2 separate regions of the Homo sapiens genome follow, and region 1 is linked to region 2. Evidence: promoter capture Hi-C in 16 types of primary human blood cells and fetal thymus (Javierre and others, 2016). All regions are on one chromosome and are shown on one strand. The core of a region is centred on a gene start or on the middle of the fragment in contact, and the rest is flanking DNA. Distances in the headings are between cores, read along the strand shown.

Region 1 (4,303 bases), core at 36-2,535, 450 kb after region 2:
TCTTTGTTGAGGTAGAAGTTATAGGAGGAGTTATTTCTAGAATTAGCAGATTATTGAATTTGTTAAACATCTAGTTGCTTATAGTCAGGCACAAGAGTTATATTATAAAAAAGAAATATGTGAATGATGCATGTGTAGTTTTATGGGAAATTGCCAGCGATTTTGGGAAATACTATATATACAGTATTGGAGTTCAATGTAACATATAATCACAGTTTACTTGTCACTTGTCTACCTCTAGTCTTGGTAAGTAATACAAGATACAAGTAGAAAGAACCATAATGGGGTCAAACATTATTATTTGGGAGAAAGGGATTCAACTAATAACCGGGATATTCAATCTACCCACTGAGCCTCAGTGTCCCAGTTTATGAAATGAAAGCATTCCAAGAAAAGTCAATAAATTTTGTTCTCTGACATTTTGAAGCAACTTACTGAAACCTAAAACTTTGGGTAATTTGTTTTCCCTTCCAAAGATATCATCTCATGTCTTTAAAAATATTTTTCAGTGATATTGGCAGCATTCAATGTATTTCAGAACATTTTTATAATTTTTTAGAGAGTAGAACATAAAATTAACATATACTTAATAATGAAACAGAATCTTTATTTTGTGTGTGTGGTTTTTGTTTTGGAAACCAGTGAAAAATTACTCTTAATTTAATAAATAAACTGTTTAATATGGTTTGGACACAAAACTAAGGTGAAAATACAATTAGTGAGTCTTTTTAAAAGATGATACATATTTAAAGACGGCATATCTGGCTGGGCGTGGTGGCTCATGCCTGTAATCCCAGCACTTTGGGAGGCCAAGGCGGGCAGATCATGAGGTCAGGAGATCGAGGCCATCCTGGCCAACATAGTGAAACCTTGTCTCTGCTAAAAAATACAAAAATTAGCTGGACGTGGTGAACTGTGCCTGTAATCCTAGCTACTTGGGAGGCTGAGGCAGGAGAATTGCTTAAATTAGGGAGTCGGAGGTTGCAGTGAGTCGAGATCCTGCCACTGCACTCCAGCCTGGTGACAGAGTGAGACTCCGTCTCAAAACAAAACAAACAAACAAACAAAAAGTCATGTCTAACAGCGATTCAAGCATTTGATTCAAGCATTCATATCTAACATAGTGATTCAAGCATTTGAACATAATTTCAGCAAGTATATAGCCTTCAAAAATTTTACTGCTAAACGCAAGAAAGATATGGTTTGTTGAAAAATTAATTGACCTAATTCCCTGAGACTGAGGAAATATGAATATGGTTAAGAACAAAAGCTAAGTCATCTATGAGTTCAAATCTAAAATCTATTAAAAAGAAATAGTCACAGGGTTGTTATGAGGATTGAACAATATACATTCATTACAAAACACAATGCCTAGAATAGTCAGCCTTCAACAATTTTTGTTGTTGTTGTTGTTGTGATGAAGTCTCAGTCTGTCGTCCAAGCTGGAGTACAATGGCACTATCTTGGCTCACTACAAACTCCACCTCCTAGGTTCAAGCGATTCTCCTGCTTCAGCCTCCTGATTAGCTGGGATTACAGGTGCTCACCTTCATGCCTGACTAATTTTTGTATTTTTAATAGAGATGTGGTTTCACCATGTTGGCCAGACTGGTCTTGAACTCCTGACCTCAGGTGATCTGCCCGCCTTGGCCTCCCAAAGTGCTGGGATTACAGGCGTGAGCCACTGCACCCAGCCTCAACAAATGTTTTCTATTGATTATTATTACCTAATAATAATCACATAATCAGATAATATGTCAAGTTGTTACAGTTTGTTAAAGATGTTAATTTGTTCATCTGTCCTTAAATATTCATAAGTGGTTTATTGAAGCCATATAGATCAAGAAATGAAAAAACTGAAGCTGTATAAAATTCAGTGGTGTGGTCATGCCTAAACAAAATAAAAATTTTGCCTTTCAATGAAAACTTGTTCTTCATTAATAGGGCTGTGCTTTGAGAATTGGAAAAAGGACTAGCAGGGCCTAGCTTTTTCAGGAAGATAAAAAACTTAGCTTATGAGATATATTTAATTATATATTGTTTCACGATTCTTCAAAAACTGCCACATCTGTTGTTTCACATCACCCTCATAAGAATGTTGTGTAGTAATCAGAGTAGGCTTAAAATCTACTTTAACAATGGAAGAAATTGACACTTGGGGAGGATGTGACTTATTTAATGTTCAACGACTGGAATGAGGTGTAGCTAGATGGTCTTTGTCCTTTCATTGGGTTCTCTCCCATCAGTCCATCTTCACTGAGAAGAGATACTCAGTAAATGTATCCTGCTTGACTGACATAAATATATATATTTAAGAAATTTTAAAATTACAGGATATCAAACTTAGTAAAAAATCTCTAAGCTGTTTTAGAACATAAATGTACTCTACATTACTCCTCTGGTTTAGTGTCTTCAGTTGGCTAGAGTTGAGTTGGCTATGGTCCAATCTTGAAATGTTATTCTTCTTATGAGTGGCTGGGATAATCAGGCAATGAGGGCGAGCAACAGCACAATCTACTTATGGTACTTTGTGGTGCTTAGAGATAAGAGTCACTACAAGTCCCAAAGTATCATAAGCTTTGACTTCTGTAAATGCGAAAGGACCTTGCATAAGGCATTTCTAAGAGATTAAGTTGATTTTCTAAGTGAGAAATGGAACCTCAGAAGCAATAAAATTATGGAACTATTGAGGTTGGTTCTTAATCCAAATCAATAATTTAATCCTCATATAGGTTTAAGAATCAATGTTTTATTTTATTTTTAATATAAAAATCAATCTTTTGAGATGAACATAACCTTTACATGAATATTTTTATCTCCTGAATTACTGTCAAATAAAGTATCTTTGTTATCTTTAAAAGAAGATGTGAATCCTAGGTGAATGGCAAAATGATACTAAAAATCCATGGCTTCCAGTTTACTCAAGACATGCAAATGGGAAATTGATTATAATGTATAAAAGTATCATGTAATTAAGTAATTACATGATACTTTGCGAGGGTGCCACAATTTTTCAGTCTATATTGATAGCAGTGAAAGAAAAAGAGACTTATGCATACTATATAGAGAGAATAGCTAAAGAAAACAGTTTATCAGCACCATAGGAAAGGTTAAAAAAAAGAAAAGAAAAATGAAAGTCTAAAGTGGACATAAAGCATATATGATATTACAAAGAATGGGCTATTGCAGTAAAGCTAAGATGAAAATGAGAAGTGTGATAAAAGGGTTAAGCATTGAGGTTATGGAATTTGGCTAAGGTTTGAATCCTGGTTTTATCACTTACATCTTGAGCAAATTAATCTCTCTGAATTTCATCTTCACCTAAAAATGAGGCAATAATTTTACTCTCTCATAGAGTTTTTTGAGAATTAAAAAGGATAATGTAAATAAAGTGTTGTGCATAGTTCTTGGCACATAGCAAATACTCAATGAAAATTATCTATCATATTATTATAATATAATATATACTATTATTATCTTTTAGATTATCTGATTTTAATCTCAAATAGATTTTCAAAGATTTTGAACATGAAAACCAGAATAAAATAATATTCCCTAAATATATAGTTTGAAATCAATATTGTGAATCCAACTGGTGCATGTCTGCAGTGCCCTTCCTTTCAAGTTAAAACAACAAAAACAATTATGATTTAGTAAGGGAACAAAATCTCCTTTCAGACAATCTTGCCAATTCAGTAAAACTCAAATAATGTAATTTTAATTTAGAAGGCCTTTTTCTATATTGCTTCTAAGGAAAAATTCAATTCAGAAAGCTGATATTCAAATTTTACTCAAATTAATAATTAAAAAAATTTATTATTCTATTAAATTCAACATTTATTTACTGAAGGCCTACAAAATGTCCATAATTTAAAGTAATCTTATTCATCAGACCTTATTAACCCCATAATACTTTTTTTTGCATAAAATCCAGATCCTGCACAAAAACCCACTATACAAGAATAGTATTCATTAGAAATAGCACAGATATGCCTATTAAGTGTTAAGCATCATTTGACTCCACTTTTGTTCCTCTAGAGTAGATATGAAAAGTTAGAGTTTAGTTACTTCAGGGAATAAGATCAGTACAGAAAATAAACACATCTTAGTTACTACCCTCAACCTGGCACACAGCTTGGCAACAAATGCTTTTCTAGAAGATAATAAAAAGAAAAAGTAGTCCAAATCACACCCACATAGCAAGGGTGAGACAGTCACCTTCCCTAGAGTCAATTGCTCATGCTCAGATTATATGAACCACAGGATTGATTTCTATGCAGTCAAATGAAAAGCAAACTCTCTG
Region 2 (4,411 bases), core at 6-2,505:
CATATTTTCCATTTCTCCATACTTCATCTATTAATCAGTTGACTGGCAATTTCCGACACCAGTTTTGCTAAACTTTATAAATTTTGCTTCCTCCAGAGGTAGGAGGGGGAAGGAGATGGGCAATACAGAAACAGATTTTACAGCCAGAATATGACAGGGCCCCTTAAACTACAAATAGATGTAGAATTTTAAATGTAGCTCTGTAGTTCAATTTATACCACAGAAATTGCGAGATGCTATCTTCCTGTTGTTATAACGTATCAGGTCAAGGGATATAAATTGTACCAGGTAATTCATTTTGCTGTTCAGAGAGTCATTAAGTTCCTCCCAGAATATATGTGATTGATATCCCTGGAGGTGAAAGGCTAAAGGAACCATATGGCAACATGTTGCATTCCGTATGCTATCTGCCCATCCGTGCTTAAGCTGTCATTAGCAACATCTGTACCTTACGGAAATCCAGCTGCGCCGACGACGGCTGACGGAATTGTACTTGGGGGGAAAATCTAGCTTAGCGCCATTAACTTGAGACTTAGAGTCTATCTACCAGGACGGATGGAAGCTTTCACAATTAGACGAGACGACACGAATGCTTTATTAAAGTTTAATTTTGAACTCCCAATTAGCGAAAGTGCATTACAAATCGATTGCAATTTCCTAGAAGGTGCAGCAAGTTCTCTGCCTGCCTGCCACGTGCGAGACGCTCCACAGCGAGCTTCCCCAGCTCCGGGCAGCAGAAAGGGGATGGTTCAGAGCCGATCTCCGCATCCCAGGAAGTCCCTAAAATCCGCGCCAGCCCCTCCTCCCGCAGGGCGGGGGCGTCCACGGCGCGAACCCGCCAGAGGTGTAGGGGGAAGTGTGGGGGGCTGGTCCGCAGCCTTCGAGGGGTGGGGCGACAGGAGCGAGCGGCCGGGGGAGGAGAAAAAGGCGGGCGGCGGGAGAGGGGGCCTCTATTATCTCGGCTTCTCGGGAGGAGCCTCATCTAGTCAGTCACGCAGAAGTTTCTCTTTCGCTCTTCGCGCTACACACCCAGATTGGCTTCCAGCGCGCAGGCGAGTGGGGCGAAGGAGGGGGGACAGGAGTCCCGGAAGGGCCGTCCGGCGTTCACACCCACCCCTGTTCCGCTCCTCCCGCCCCAAACAAAGTCCCCCGACTCTAGGTCCAGGATACGTTACCTGCCCGGCGCTCCCGGCCCCTCGGTCACCGCATCCCCCGCTGGGCGCGCCTGGTACGGGTCCCGCTCCCCGGGGCTCACAAAGTGGTCGCCCCTGGCTGGGCGGCTGGGTAGATGCCCCTCTCTGGACATGTTGGGGCGGTTTTTGGGGTGGAGGGAACGCGGGAAGTGAAAGCGGAGGCTGGGACAAGGGGAACTTACTGATAAAATGGAAAAAAAAAAAGCCCACAGGGCCCAGGTCCTGGCCGGGGGCGAAAGAGGCCTGTTACCTTTCGGGGGGTCGCGGCCGACCAAGAAGGGAGCCGGGGAGTCGCCCGCCCCCCTCCCCCGGCCCCCGGCCCCCGGCCCCCGGCGGCTGCGGCAGCTGCACACAGAAGCCCATTGTCGCCGGCGTCCGGCGCGCAGCCCCGCGGACTCGGCCCCGCGGCCAAGCGCGTCAGCGGCCCCGTCAGCCGGGCCGGGCTCCGTGACGCGCGCGCAGCCCGCGCTATAAATAACCTGCCGCCGGGCGGCTCGGGCGGCTTTCCAGTGACGCTGGGGCGGAGGCGCGGTAGGAGGAGGGCGAAAGGAAACAATAAAACCGCCCGGCAGCCTCCCAAGTCTCCCTCCTCCCTTCCCAGGCCGCCCGCGGCCCTTCGCGTCGAGCTCCTTTTTCCCCGCCCCGGCCCGCCCTGCGGGGAGCGCGGTTCGCGGGTGGGAAGGAGCCCGGCGTGCTGGCGTCCCCGAGTGCTGCCGGGGCCCCGGGGCGGGAGGGGGTTTTTCCCGCACCCTGGGATGGCGAGGAGGGAACTTGGCGACAAGTTTAGTGAGGGGATCGCTGTGTTCCTTTCTAGTCCAGTTAAAATGACCCGAGCTTTTCCCGCTCCCTCACACACCTATTCTAGTACAGGTCGGATGTGTTTTTGGGGTAGTAAGTCCTCAACCGAAAACAAAAGCGAAAAACCTGTCGTCTTCAACGTAAGCATTATCTAGGTTTTTGTGGGGCCAGGCTTGCATTAGTGTTTTCATTCGGGGGGTTGTATTATAGAAAGGGTGCCCCGTAGTAGCAGCGTGAGGAAGGGTTCCAGGACCCAGGCTGTCAGCTCCGGTGCATTTACAGGTCTTTTTGCCGTAGAATTTAGCATAGGCCTGAAACATGGCATAAATGAACTTTCTAAAAGTCTATAATCTCAACGTTAAAGAGCTTACTTTTTAACTCTGGACTTTAATAAAGGCTCCCACTTTAAAAGGGGCTTTCTCTATAGGAAAGTATTAATATTTTTGTGGAGACTCTCACTGCTACCTTCCATACTCAGGCAATTCTGTCACACACCCTGACACTTGTCCTACTCATTAAGGTACCCACATACAACTGGAGGTAATCTGTTTTCTTGGACCAACAATTAATAGACTATAAAACTGTATTTCGTCTTGAGCAAAATGTCTCAGCTATGAACATGTTTTCTGAGGTTCTGATATAGACATAGATAAAAATTTGCAGATGCAAGCAAGGTGTTGCAGTGACTTGGCATGGTTAGAGTGAGTTACTAGTGTTGGGGGAAATGGTTCTTAGTTCACTAGTGAGGCAAAGTGGTATAGTAGAAGGTTCTCTGAGCTGGGGTTTAGAAGATAAAGAAATTTGAGTTTTAATTATGTCTTCACTGTACTTTTCTGTGCCACCTTGCAGAAACCACGGCCTTTCTCTGCCGCACTTTCTTCATTAACATTAAGGACTGATAGTTCCTTTTCTACCCTTACATTCTAGGATGTTAAAGGATATTGTGTCCAGGGATAAAGTTTTATCAAATAAACATAAGCACCCAGTGTCTCATGGGAGACAGGTAACAAATGTAGATTAATTTGGTGTTCTGACATTTTAAAATTTTGTACATCTTAAAATATATTAGGGCCACTTCAGGAAAATAATGAATTAAAATATACCATTAAAACTATTTTAAGAGGAAAAACTAGTCACAGTCTGCCTCATTTACAGGACAGCAGACATATTTACAGTCTAATGATGTCACAGGCCCTTTCCAACACCACGTTTTCTCATGTGAGCAAATGGATTATGGGTAGCAAAATGCAATGAGATCACTTTCTCCAATTTTGCTCCCATTTCTGGTTTGTGTGGTTTTTAAAAGGAATGTTTCCGTTGAAAGACACTGAATTGTTTATCACTAAGTGGTGTTATTGAGACAAGGGAAAGTTTTCTGATTTATCAGTCAGAATATGCTTTATTCTTCTTTCTTCAGGTTGGTGAATCAGAAAACATAAAAGTGGCAAAATAAGTTTAGAGCCAAAACATTTGCTTCATATAGTCACCGCCAAAGTGTGATCACAACTAAAAGTTAACCAATATTTTTCCAGTTCCAAAAGCACATCTGTCTCTCTTTCCCATAAAATGTTTGATATGTCTAATTTAACTTAGCCTTAAGGTTCTTTCTTCTGCTCCTTATAAAGAGGTATTTTTCTTTCACTGCTATTTTCCTGAAACACTGAGCTTCTCTCATAATTTTAAATTAAAGCCCTTTTGCTTACTTCTTATCCCTTTTTAACGTGATGTTCCATTTTCCATTATCCCTGCCCTTAAAAATTTAATAGGATGAGAACTAGCATATATTGGCGAAATTTGAAACATGCCCGATTTTAGAGGGGAGGGAGGAAACAAGATTAGCTTTAGAACCAGTAGAAATACAGTAAAACAACCAGTTTCCTCAAAACTAACAAAAACAAAAAAATCATAACGAAATTCGTGAAATAGGGGACTGAAAATACGGAAAATATTTTATCTGGATCTCATTGATAACATAAAGCTTGTTACAATTTTTCAAACATAGTGAATGTTTTAGAATGTGAACATTTCCCAATCTTCTGAAGTTTCTGTCTACCTGAGGTTAAATCCTTTGAAAGACTCCTCTACAGCAACAGTATTGAAGAATTTATTAGAGAAACTACAGTGAACTCTTGCCTTATTACTCAGTTAATCCTGATCTATATTTAGAGAGTGGTGCCAGCCAGGTTGAGGCTTCAAAGGAATGAGCACAAATATTTACCATATCCTGTGCAGTAGAGTTTTGGTGATTGAAATGAAAATTCATCTTGGAAAATATCACTGAAGTTATAGTATAAGCAAATCTCAGCAACCTTCAAATGAATAAATAGAAGGTTAACAAGAAAAGTGATGAGGGATTCTCAGTATTCCAAATGAAAGAAAAGAGACAACTCAGATTTAGAGGTAGGAGCCTTCTTCATTTA

The links. The method cuts DNA at HindIII sites, captures the fragments that hold promoters and counts their contacts. A CHiCAGO score of 5 or more calls a contact.
Region 1: a contact is called between a fragment that was not itself captured here and the fragment with the promoter of FLJ46875 in region 2, in 1 of 17 cell types (erythroblasts). The highest score is 5.2, in erythroblasts.

What each region holds. Positions count from the first base shown.
Region 1 is chr2:156,795,520-156,799,822 of GRCh38, forward strand. All of the region lies in intron 1 of LOC124907897 (a long non-coding RNA gene), which reads left to right. Among named protein-coding and RNA genes, the nearest start is that of LINC01958, 130 kb to the left of the region's middle. The HindIII fragment of the contact is 2,579 bases long and covers 1-2,575 here.
Region 2 is chr2:156,340,865-156,345,275 of GRCh38, forward strand. FLJ46875 (a long non-coding RNA gene) reads right to left here and starts at 1,256. Exons shown (of 1, transcript NR_147695.1): 1 at 1-1,256. RefSeq lists enhancers at 161-716, 717-1,270, 2,478-2,537 and silencers at 818-917, 1,458-2,067. The HindIII fragment of the contact is 3,407 bases long and covers 561-3,967 here.